Linked DNA regions of Homo sapiens: all the other regions are linked to region 2. Evidence: promoter capture Hi-C in 16 types of primary human blood cells and fetal thymus (Javierre and others, 2016). All regions are on one chromosome and are shown on one strand. Each heading gives the region's core, a stretch centred on a gene start or on the middle of the fragment in contact. The rest is flanking DNA. Distances are from core to core; before and after follow the strand shown. Region 1 overlaps LOC105374318 (a long non-coding RNA gene). Region 2 holds the start of PUM2 (pumilio RNA binding family member 2). Region 3 overlaps LOC105374317 (a long non-coding RNA gene).

What was found. The method cuts DNA at HindIII sites, captures the fragments that hold promoters and counts their contacts. A CHiCAGO score of 5 or more calls a contact.
Region 1: a fragment that was not itself captured here is called in contact with the fragment with the promoter of PUM2 in region 2 in 1 of 17 cell types (M2 macrophages); the score reaches 5.9 in M2 macrophages.
Region 3: a contact is called between a fragment that was not itself captured here and the fragment with the promoter of PUM2 in region 2, in 2 of 17 cell types (M1 macrophages and monocytes). The highest score is 7.2, in M1 macrophages.

The regions. Positions count from the first base shown.
Region 1 is chr2:21,329,290-21,333,405 of GRCh38, reverse strand. All of the region lies in intron 2 of LOC105374318 (a long non-coding RNA gene), which reads right to left. Among named protein-coding and RNA genes, the nearest start is that of TDRD15, 210 kb to the right of the region's middle. The HindIII fragment of the contact is 1,237 bases long and covers 766-2,002 here.
Region 2 is chr2:20,349,266-20,352,962 of GRCh38, reverse strand. PUM2 (pumilio RNA binding family member 2) reads left to right here and starts at 2,119. Exons shown (of 21, transcript NM_015317.5): 1 at 2,119-2,366. RefSeq lists enhancers at 760-1,389, 1,597-1,686, 1,390-2,021, 2,022-2,651 and a silencer at 1,847-2,736. The HindIII fragment of the contact is 4,637 bases long and covers 1-2,836 here.
Region 3 is chr2:21,233,016-21,237,129 of GRCh38, reverse strand. The region is part of intron 1 of LOC105374317 (a long non-coding RNA gene); the gene reads right to left. Among named protein-coding and RNA genes, the nearest start is that of TDRD15, 110 kb to the right of the region's middle. The HindIII fragment of the contact is 5,187 bases long and covers 1-4,114 here.

The sequences.
Region 1 (4,116 bases), core at 135-2,634, 980 kb before region 2:
GGGCATCAGACAGCTCGGAGAGTGACGCCACCAGTGGACCTGTTTTTGCTGCTCCAGTTACATTCTTGAATCTATTGGACATTTGCCTCCTTGCTGAAGAGTCATTCTGCAGAGAACACTCATTAAGCAGGCTGCATTAATCCTGTTTTTCTAACCCTGGTTCATGTTTATGCATTTGACAGTCAACATTTTTGAGCAGTCCCTCTGTACACCATTGAGTCTGGTTATGCACATGCAAAGAGAATTGGAGAGTGAAGGGGTCACCTGCTGAGTTCAGTGTAAACTGGCAATCTAGACAGTTTTGCATAACAATTACAACTTGCCTGTTGTTGCAAAATATTAGTGGTATATGAGAGACTACTTCATTCCACTTCATCCCCACTGATGTGTGCTGTTTCAGATCATGATTAGTGAGCAAAATAAACTAAAATTAATTTTGATTAAAATTTGGTGACATTCCTTAAGAAAACTGGTGATAACCTGTGGTGTCAGAGCTGGGGATAATTGTTTCAAGAAATCAGTCTCTCTATAATCCATTAAACTTTTATATCTCACTGCTTTTTTTTCCTTTCAAATAACATTACAGAGGATGTTTTATAAAACATATACAGCTCCTCGGCTGTTCTTGGATATCCTACTGTCATTTAAAACTCAATATATTCCAAAGAGAACTAGCCAATCCCCTACTTCCCCTGCCCCATATCATTTCTGGCCTTCTTTGTTTTTCCATTTCTACTAATGATTTCATTCTGTAGCTTAAAAGCTTCAATTTCCTTCATTCAAAATACCAGCTTAGCCTTTTAAGTCTAATCAAACTTGAAAAATGGTTCCTATAGAACAGGAAACATTTCCTATGCTATAGTATACTATAGGGTTCTCCAGAGAAACACAATCTATATATATTCTATCTGTAGCCTATGTATATATATCCTCTATAGACACACACGTGTGCACGCATATATATATTTATATCCTGTATATAAATTTTCTATATTTTATATGTATATCCTATATATAAAGAAATTTATTATAAGGAATTCGTTCATGTCATTAGGAAGGCCAAGTCTAAGATCTACAGGGCCAATGTCATAGTTTAAGTCCAACAGCCAGTAGCTGTGATAGAGCTGATGAAGAGCTGATGTTTCACTCAAAAGGCATTCAAACGGGCTAATCCTTTCATATTTGAGAAAGGGTCAGCCTTTTGCTTTATTCAAGCCTTCAACTGATTGGATGAGGCCCACCATATTGTGGAGGAAAATCTGCTTTAGATTAAGGTTAAGATTTTAACCTTAATCTAATCCATTAACACCCTCACAGAAACTCAGAATGTTTGACCAAACATCTGGACATCCAGTGGCCCAGTCACATTGACCCATAAAATTAGCCATCACAATATGGCTCGAAGAAGTAGTATTTTATCCCTTCTTCTTGGGTGATCTCAGAATTTCTTCTACACTGTTGAAGAGACTTGGCTAGCATTCCTGCCTTCAGTCTCTCTCCCTCTCTGCTCACAAGAGTACTTCCAGACTAGTCTTTGACATAATTGTATTGCACTACAGATAAATCACACTGACCTCTGACTTCCTGTCTCCACCTGGCTTCTGCTCCAGTTTCTCACTCCCAGAGACTTCCTTGATTCCAGCCTATAGTTTTTCTTCTTTTTTGGAGTTTTAGAACTTCTTGAAAGTGTGCTGGAAGCCAGGCCTTCCTTGAGTTCCAATGTGACCACCCTGTGCATTTAGTTTTCCAATATGAAACTAATATAGCAATATATATTTATTGTGGTTATTGTGTATATTTCTACAGATACTAGATATTTCTCCCTTTATGGTATATATTTCTCTGTATATATAGTCATATACCTATAGGAAAATACACAGATAAAGTCTGGAAACAAAGACCACTCAAATGAGAACAAGCAAAGATCATTCAGAGCTTGCTAGAGCAAGGACATTACTTCCAGTTCAGAGACACTAAAGGTAGGCAGTGGAGTATAAAAGCTTTATAATGAACAAAAAGGGAAGATTCAGATATGCCACTATTGGAGGTTTTTGGCATAAGGGAAGCTGGAGGTAGGCTCACTAGAATCAGGGCATCCTGTGTAATTGGAAAGGAGAGCGTATTTAGCTTCCCCTGGTTAGTTCTAAACTGGAAACAGGGCAAAAGATAGTGCAGCTGGCAGTTATTGATTCAACTCCTGACTGTTTGGGGCTGATTGCTACAGAGGTTGTGGTTTGTCCTTCTGGACTGATTGCTACAGATTGCGAGTCAGAGTTCTATTTTTATATACGGTCTGGCCATTCTCTATTTGTAAAATCAGTTTCTCAAGAGAGAGACGAGACAGAGAGAAATTCTGATGAGATTAAGATAGTATTAGATCAAGGCTTAAACCACCCAATCCTGTCCTAGAACACTACAATGTGAAAGGTCTCCGAGTGAAATAAATACATCCAGAGGGTAAGGTGCAGCTAGATCATACTGATACCTGATGTTTGGTCCCAAGCCCTAACATGTGGCTCTAATGAGCAAGAGGAAGGACTGTTTTTCCTTGTGCTGGGGAAACCAAAGGCCCTACCTTCTCTGCTTCTCCTAAGCCTGGATTGGGATCTTGCCTCCTACTACTTTAACATAAGGAAGGAGAGTCCATGCCAGGCTCCAGGCACCAGAGAGAAGGACAAAGAGAAAAAGATCGCAGGAGAGAATACTTCCCCAATGGCAACAGCTTCTGCCCTCTTGTCCATGCCTGCTTTCTCATATACCCACTTCTAGGAGGAGAAGAAGAAGAAATAGTCAAAGATACAAAGTGTCATTTTAATTCCGGCAAGACAAAAGCAAGAGAAGAGTCACCCATATCTGAGCAAAACCTTATAATTACACAAAGTTATTTTACTTCCTAATATATTACTCAATAAAATATGCCCAGATTTGATTCCGCCAGAGAGTCTGGGGTGTTTTAAACTCCCTCTTCACAAAAGCTAATATATAAATTAATTTTTGCAGTTTTTCTCTGTTTTTTTTTTTTTTTTTTACTAACAGCCCACACTTTTCCCTTGTCATTTTTTCTCTGAAAAGACAGTTTGTTAAGGTTTTACAGAACTACATTACAGAACTAAACCAAAATTTAAGCAATTCCCTACTATGAACATTTATGGTTTTTTTCCTAATTTTCACTATAAAAATAATGTAGTACTAGGAATCCTTATGCAATAGTCATTACACAAATCTCTGATTATATCCTAAAGAAAAATTCCTGGAAATGGAATTACTTGCTGAAAGTTCTGGACATTTTAAGAATACATATTCTTAAGACTTAATACATGCTTCCAAATTACCCTGCGAAAATGATTATGCGAAATTACACCCTCAACAGTAGAGTAGAAGAGAGGCCAATTTACCACAACCTCTTCGCAGCTTTTCTCTTTGCAAAGTAAATAAATGAAAAAAATATGTTATTTTAAATTCACATTCTTGTTGGTCACTTACATTTCTTCGTTTAAAAATGGTTTATAAACTTTATATATTTTCTACTAAGGTACTCATTTTTATGTTGATTTATAAAAGGGCATTTAACTGAATTGGAATTAATTTTGTTACACGAGGTAGAAATCTAACCTGAGTATGCTCTTCAAAGGTAAATCAACTGTTCTGGTTCTAATTGTTGAATAATTAATTTTTCCAAGGATCTGAAATACTATCAAATCACATGAATGTATATGTAATTTAGGGATGTTTTAACACTTTTTATTTCATTCATTTTTCTATTCTGTCTTTTACAATACTTTTTCCTCTTGAAAGATATCACTGGATTTTTCAGTTTTGTACATTGTCATAAACAGTAGGGCAGGTAACATGTATGTCTTTTACACAATTTTCTTGAATAATCTTCACTCATTCTCCTAGGTGAACTTTAGAATAATCATATCAATTTTTAAATAAGCAAACACTGTGACTTTATTTGAAATTGTGTTAAAACTATAATTTGCAGAAAGTTGACATGGTTACAGATCAGTCTTTCCTATCTATGCGTAAGGTGGATCTCTCCATTTATATAAGACATCTTTTATACTGCTCATTAATGCTAAGTGGTTTCCTTATACATCTTACCTTTTTAATTAA
Region 2 (3,697 bases), core at 870-3,369:
AAAGTGCTTTGGTGCTTGCATGTTGTTAGTACCAAACAAATAACTATAGCTTACACGTGGCTTTTAGTAGGACTCTTGGTTGTAACAGAAATTCACTTTATCTAGCTTAAGCAAAGAAGCAGAATTTACCATAAGGATCCAGGAATGCGGCTCAGACTCCAAGGGTAGAGGCAGCCAGCCAGGCACAGAAACATGTGAAAGAGAGACATTGTCAGCACTCTCCTTTTCTCTCTCAACTCCACTCTTTCTCTACAGGTTCCCTGTCTTACAGGATGGAACCAGTCTGCCCAAGGGATCCCAGGTCCAAGAGACTTTCGAGGTTGGGGTCTCTTAGTCCCAATTCCATATTCTAAGGGAGGGCCTGTGATGGATTTATCTAGTTTCACCCACACTAAGCAACTGTATATAAAGACTCTTCTGCTATTATCAGCTCAACGGAGGGGAAAGGAGAAGGAAGGCAAAATGTGTACACCCCAGCATCTCCCATTCTTACTTGATCGTGAGACATTTCTTAAAGGAACATCTATTAACACTGAACACAGCACACTAGGGAAATGCTGTCGTGGGTGATGGGGAGCAATGAGATGGTTGAAGCAGAGGCCTGAGCGCCAGGAATTGGATTTGCATTTTAGATAGCAGTGAGCAGAACTGATTGGAGGGAGTGAGACTGGAGACAGGAAAGCTGATTAAGAGCCAGCTACAGAAATCCAGACCTGGGAAGCAAGGCTAGCATTAGTGAGGAGGCAGAGGAAGACTGTCTCCAGAATTACTTGGGAAGTAAAAATCTGCGAGGCTTGGTAAGTTATTTATATTTGGAGTCGGGGTAAGAGGAAGAGACAAGGATGGTTCTCAGAGGTGTAATTTGGGGAATGAATAGGTGGTGACACTGCCAATTACAGAGACAGTACAAGAGTGGGGGGTAGGGGATGGGTGTGACTTCAGTTTTTAACATGCTTGGTGACAAGAAAATTCAAGTGAAAATATCTAGAAGCCTGAAATATGAGCCTAAGGTAGGGGCTTGGGATGGATTTCAATGTCAGACATTTTTCAGTAATAGTTAAAAACCGAAGAGCCCATGTGTATTCAACAGGCACTTGCGGGCACAGTGTGAAACAAAACACAAGGTCCTTGCCCTCGTGGAGCTCACAGTCGCCTAGGGAAGACATATATTAAGCAAACTATACGGGAGGCCCTGAATATTTACGAAGTGCAGCATGTCAGGAGAGCCAGGAGCTGTGCAAACAAACCATCAAGAACAAATCGGACACGGTGCCTGTTACAGCTGTGTGACCTGGAGCCGGTTAGGTTAGAATCCTGGAATCACCACTGCTTTGCATGGGGGTCCAGGACAGCAAGGCAGATTTGGAGTTTCCAACTAGCCTGTAAACGGGGAAGGAGAGAGCGCTTAGTACGCGAGAAAAAGAAACAGCCAACGAGTGAGAATCACTGGCCCAGCTGGAGAACGACCTGAGTTTCCTTTGTGTGCACCGGGACCAAGCACTGGGGGCCGACAATTTGCTGAGAGCTGGCTCCACCTGCCTGGGGTGCAACCACGAGAAGAGTGACAGCCCTCTCGCAGGGTACAATCTTCCACCCCCAGATGCATCTCCCTCGTCTGGTTGTGGGGAGGTACAGAGTGAAAGTTAAAGGCCTGAATTAACGTCCGGCTCTTGTGGGCGCCAGCACTCTGGAAGCGAAATGCCAGGAGTACCCCACGGTGGGCGGCGCGGGCGCAGACACCCGCACACCCAGTTGGGGGAAAACAGTGAGCAACCGGGTAGGAAGCCGAGGGTAAGAAGATTCAGAAGGCGAGGCCCCACGCGGGAAGACAGTCGAACACAGCGTTTGGCAACAGTACGCCTGCGCTCTCCGAGCCCGCCGCGGCGGAGCCCAGGAGGGAAGCGCGAGCCCGCAAGGTGAGGGCGGGGGAGGGCACGCCGGAGAGGCGGCCAAACACGTGAGAGCGCGGAGAACGTGCGCACGCGCAGGGCGCCCCCGGCCCGCGCGGCGGCAGCGCGGGAGCAGGGACGCAAGGCATTAAAAGGAGCCGCGCCTTGGTGAGCGCTCCCCCTCCCCTTTCTCCCGGGGTGCACTGCGCGCGCCCGGTGGGCGGGGGGGAGGGGAGGGCAGGCGGCGGTGGCAGCCATGTTGTTGTGAGTCTCTGTGTCTCACCCTCGGTACTTCGGTGGTTCGGAGGAGGAGGGGGAGGAGAAGGAGGAGGTGGGGTGGGGGGGGAGGGTGGTAGGTGGAGAAAGAAGACATTGCCGCCACCGAAGGCGGAGGAGGGGGAGGACCGCCAAGAGCGACGCCGCCGTGTGCCCAACGGTCGGTGTCCCCGGCTGAGGCAGCGCGGCCGCAGCAGCCCTGTAAGTCAGTCCGCGTTCGCTCTTTCTCCGGTCCTTTGGCGCCGTCGAGGATGGCTCCCCAGGCTTTGTGCGGCGGCCTCGGCGGGAGCCGATCGCCAGCGGGAGGGCGGATAGGGCCTGCTGAGTGCCCGGGCCGGTGCGGCCTGGGGCCCGCTCGCACAATGCAGGGGGAGGGGTGCCGGAAGGGGGTGTGCGCGTGCGGGGGAGGGGGCGCCGCGCCGGCCGCTTTCCCGCTTCCTTCCCTCTGCGGGGCCGCCGCCTCGGGGGCGTGGGGCGCCGACCCGGTTCTCCCTCCGATTCGGCGCGCTGGAGGTTAGAGACCGAGCTGTCGGCCCTAGGGTTCGGAAAGAGGGGAGAGGCCGGGTGGCCCCAGAGAAGCATGCGGATTGCAAGTGGGTGAAGAGGAAGGAGTGGGTTTATGAAAACAAGTGTGGGCATTTTCAAAGGCCCGAGTGTGTCCGGGAAAAGCTTGCCGTGGACAGATGTGGGTATGAAGCAGTGACTTGGATTCGCCTTGTTTAGGTTATAGGAACGGATTTCGATATTCAGAAAAATATGTAAATTAAAACCAAAGACAAGATTAGCGGCTTCTACTATTTGAGCAGTAGTTTTGTATCTGAATTGGGTCAGGTTTTGGGGAAAATGTTTAAAGTTTCATGCCCAAACACGTGTAAAAGTTAGTGTTGTTTCTGAAAACACAGCCAGAGAAAACCTACTTAACTTAGCTTTTTATTCTAACATACGTAAACTTTTGAAGAGAGGAATGTATTGCCAGCATATTAGGTGCAATAAGACATCATGTTAGGACTTAGTACTTTGAGATTTTTACTTGTTGAGAAAACGGGGCAGATGTTTTGGTGAAGGAAAACATGAGAAAAATGCTTGTAAACGGTGAAGAGAAATGTAATACCTGTAAAGGTACTGTATGTCAAGAAAACAATTTTAATAAAGGGAGTTACCGAAGGATTTTAAAAGCTTGTTTAATGGTTAGATTTCGTGTTTAACAGGTGACTCTTCACCATGTGACCTGGAGTATTGGAAGATGACTTAAGGAATCCTGTAAATAAAAAAAAAAAAACAAAAATGAGTATTTTCAACTTGTTTCTCTTCCTAGCCTCCTTTTAAACAATGATTTACTTCATTTGCTCAATCATTATGAATAAAAATGATGGCATTTTCCGTGCTGCAAGAATTTCTTTAAAATTCCGATTTTTGGTGAAATTGCATTGTGTAGAATTTTCTTGGTGTGCATGAGGGCAGTTTTTGTATGCAGAAAAGGTTTACGATAATCTTAAAAATAAAATTTTATTTCAGAAACCTGGTTCTTGAGG
Region 3 (4,114 bases), core at 582-3,081, 880 kb before region 2:
AATCAAGATGGTTTGGTAGTGGCATAAGGATGGCCACACAGATATACTGAATAGAATGCAGAGTCCAAAAATATATACATACATGCTCAATTGATTTTTAACAAGTGCCAAGGTAATTCAATTTGAAAGGATGCTTTTTTTCAATAAATGATGCTGAAAGAACTGGATATTCATTTAAAACAAATACGAACTTTGATTCTTACCACACCTCATACACACAATAAATAGTGAGAAGTAAATCAGAGACCTAAACATAAAAAGCTAGAATGTTAAAACTTTCTGAAGAAAATATAGGAAAAAACATGTATAATGTTGGAATAGGCAAAAATTCCTTAGATAGCATGGCAAAGTCTTAAACTCTAAAAGAATAGGATTCCGTCAACTGATTAAGATCTGCTCTTTGAAAAACAACATGAAGAAAACAAAGTGGCAGAATATTTCAATAAATGTATCTGATAAAGACTGGTATCCAGAACATAGTATTTTTTAAGCCTACAATTCAAGAATAAAACAACAAATAACCCAAATTTTAAAATGGGCAAACTTTGGAAAAGACACTTAAGCACAGAAAAAGATGTTCAATGTGACCAGTAATAAGAACAAAATGCAATTTAAACTATTAATTTGATGCTACCGCATGCTCACTAAAATGCTGAAAATCTGAAAAGTTAACAGCACAAATGTTGGTGGAGCAACTTAAACTTTTATGCATTGCTGGTGGGAATTTAAATAGTAAAATCAACTCAGAAAACAATTTGGCAATTTCTTCAAAGTTAAATAAGTACCTATCCTATGTCCCAGCAATTTCATTCCAGGTGTTTACTCAAGAAAAAATGAAAATATATGCCCACATAGAGACTTGTAGAGGAATATCTTTAGTAAAATTATTTATAAGAGTCACAAATTGAAAACAACCCACATGCCCATAAACAGGAGTATAAAGAAATTGTGGCATATTTATACCATGTAATACTATTCACTAGTTAAATAGAAAAATCTATTGTTATCGACAACATGGATGAATCTCACAAAAGCTGTAATGAAGGAAAGAAACTGCACTGAACAAAATACACCCTGAATTATTTATTTTACATGAAGATCAAGAGGAGAAAAATCTACTCTACACAGATAAAGCCCAGAACAGTAGCTGCCTTTGGCTGGGAAAGAATTTTTTAGAAAGAGGGATGAGAGCATTCTGGGATGAGAGTGAGGTCTTGATAAAGATGTTTGTTACAGGAATTTATACATTTCTCAAAACTCAACAAACCACACACTTAAAATGGGTCTATTTTATTCATGTAAATCATACCTAAATGAAAAAATAAAGTATTCCTTGATAATAGCAACAATTCAAATGTAATATTTATATATGCCATTTATAATAGAAAAATTCTAAGTGAATGTAGCCATACACAAGTCTTCCCAAATTAATCTATCAATAACGTCAACAGAATATTTTGCAGAACTCAACAAGCTAATATTAAAATTTATATTAAAGAAGAAAAGGCCAAAAGTTATCACAATAATTGTGAATTAAAAGACTGAATAACGCAGCATGTCCTGACAAATGTGGAGACTGACTCTAAAGCTACAGCAAATAAGGCAATGTGATATTAGCACAGGAATAAGCAAACAAACAAAAAACAAGTATACAGAAATGTATACAGAACACAGGTAGCACTAAAATCCATAGTTAGACTAGCCAATTGTGTTGGGAAAACTATTTATCTACACGGAAAAAATTATGTCCCCACTTCACACTATACATTCATGTCGGTATTAAATAAACTAAAAAGATAAGAGTGGGACTTTAAAACTTTTAGATAAAAAGATAAATCCATACCTTTATGGCTGTGAGGTATTATAGAAAAGAATTTAAGAACATACATGCATGCGTGTGTATGCATGCACATAGACACAGTAACAGATAACACATAGACACAGTAACAGATAAGACTGATATATCTGGCTCTATCAATTATTTATTACTTATTAACAAACCACCCAAAACTTAATGGCTTATTATGCTCACAAATCTGCAGTGTAAGTAGGCCTTGTAAGCAGGGATGACTTGTCTCTTCTCCACATCTAGTGCTACTTGACTGAGGGTAACCCTCTGTCAGGATGGCTCTCTCACAGGCTGGAGAGCTCATGCAGGCTGGCAGCTGCAAGCTCAGCTGGAGCTGCAGACCAGGGGCCTTGGTTCCTTGCCTCATCAGCCTCCCCGTAGTCCGCTTGCACTTCTTCACAGCATGAGGGCTGAATTCCAAGACAAAGTATTCCAAGATAACCTGGCAGAAATAGCATTTTTGTGTGTGACTTGGCATTAGAAGTCACCTAACAACACTTCTGCCAAACTGTACTGGTCAAGGCAGTCACAGGGTCTCTCCCAATTTTCTGTGTAAGAGACATAGGTTCCATCTTTTGAGGGAGTGGCAAAGTTCTAGAAGAGTCTGTTGGACAGCAGACACCCTTGTGGCTATCTTTGGAAAATACAATCTGTCACACCGATTAAATTAAAAACAAAAATGTCACAAAGATTAAAAAAAGCTACAGACTAGCAGAAGCATTCAACACATGCTACTGTGAAATATATATCCACAATGTATAAAGAACCCATACAAAGCAATATTAAAAATGCAAACAATCCAGTAAAGAAAATAGTAGAGGATACCAATAGATTTCTTATAGAACAGGAAAGCCAAAAGACCGATAAAAATATGGAAAAATGCTCAACCACAGTTTCAACTTCATTTCTAAGTCTTCTGGGAAACATAAATTACAAAAATTAGAAATAATTTTAAGTACAACAGATTGGCAAAAGCAGCAAGTCAATGTCAAGTGTTTGCAATGACGAAAAGAAACCAGAAATCTTACATACTATTTGTCAGAGTTTTAAGTGATTACTTTCGAGTATTATGTAACTCTGGTAAAGCTGATGATATACACAACCAATTACTCAATTTCCACCTCCAGCTTTATATGTAGAGAACACTCACATACATGCAGTAAGAGAGACTGCTACAGAAGAATGTTTATTGCAGTATTGTTTGGAATCGTGAAAAATTAAAAACAATGCAAATGTATATCAGTAAAAGAATGGCTGTATAAATTGTGTATGTTTGTGCAATGAAATATCATATACCGTAGTAGTCATTATAAAAGAAATGAAGTAGCTCTACAATAATAAAAATCATAATACATGCAAGAATATTGAGCAAAAAAGCAAGTTGCAGAATAGTATGTCAATATAATGTCATTTACGTAAAGTTGGAAAACATGAAAAACAATCCTATGTATTGTTTAGGAATATATACATATTTTGAAAACTGTGAAACCCATGTACAGTCATACTAAACACAAAATTTAAAATAGTAATTACCTTCAGAAAGGGAAGAAAGAAGGATGTACAATGAGATCAGATGTGGGTGCCCAGCATCCTCCAGCTTCAAGCAAAAGTTTTTGTTACATTAAAATCAGATGCAAAGATGGCAACATTTTAATATTGGTAATGGTTGTTTATTATCCTCAAGGACACAATTCTGTACATTTGAAATATATCTTAATAAAGTCCCATGTTTCTATACCAAAGCTCCACGGAATGAACCTAATAGTTAATCTAATCCAACAATCCTTTCCAACATGGTATAAAACTCATTTTACAGATGTAGAAACTGATGTCCAGAAAGAAGACTAGACTTCCTTAAAGCTACGTGGTGAGTTACTAATGTTAATGAGACAAGGGAAGTCTCCTGACTCCCAGATTAGCCCTCTTCCTCTATACTGTACTCTTCAGGAGGATTTTAAAATGTGATCTTGGCTGCAACTCTCTGACCCAGACAAGAGTGACAGGTGTGAAAATTATTTCTGAAGCAAATCATACAGAAGAGGAATGGCAACTCGATGATCCTTCATACCTAGGTTGAATTATAGATCTAGGTAGAGCACGGCCTAAAACTCTGCCATTAAATAATCATTCTTTTGACTTCATCTTTGCCTACAGGAGGTATGAGCCCTTCAATCCTCAGAGTAAGTTTAGAATGGTACAGAGCTGATGACTTCTAAGAGAAAAGGGGAAAGTGTGGTAGGGGACAAGGCTGGACCCTCCACACAA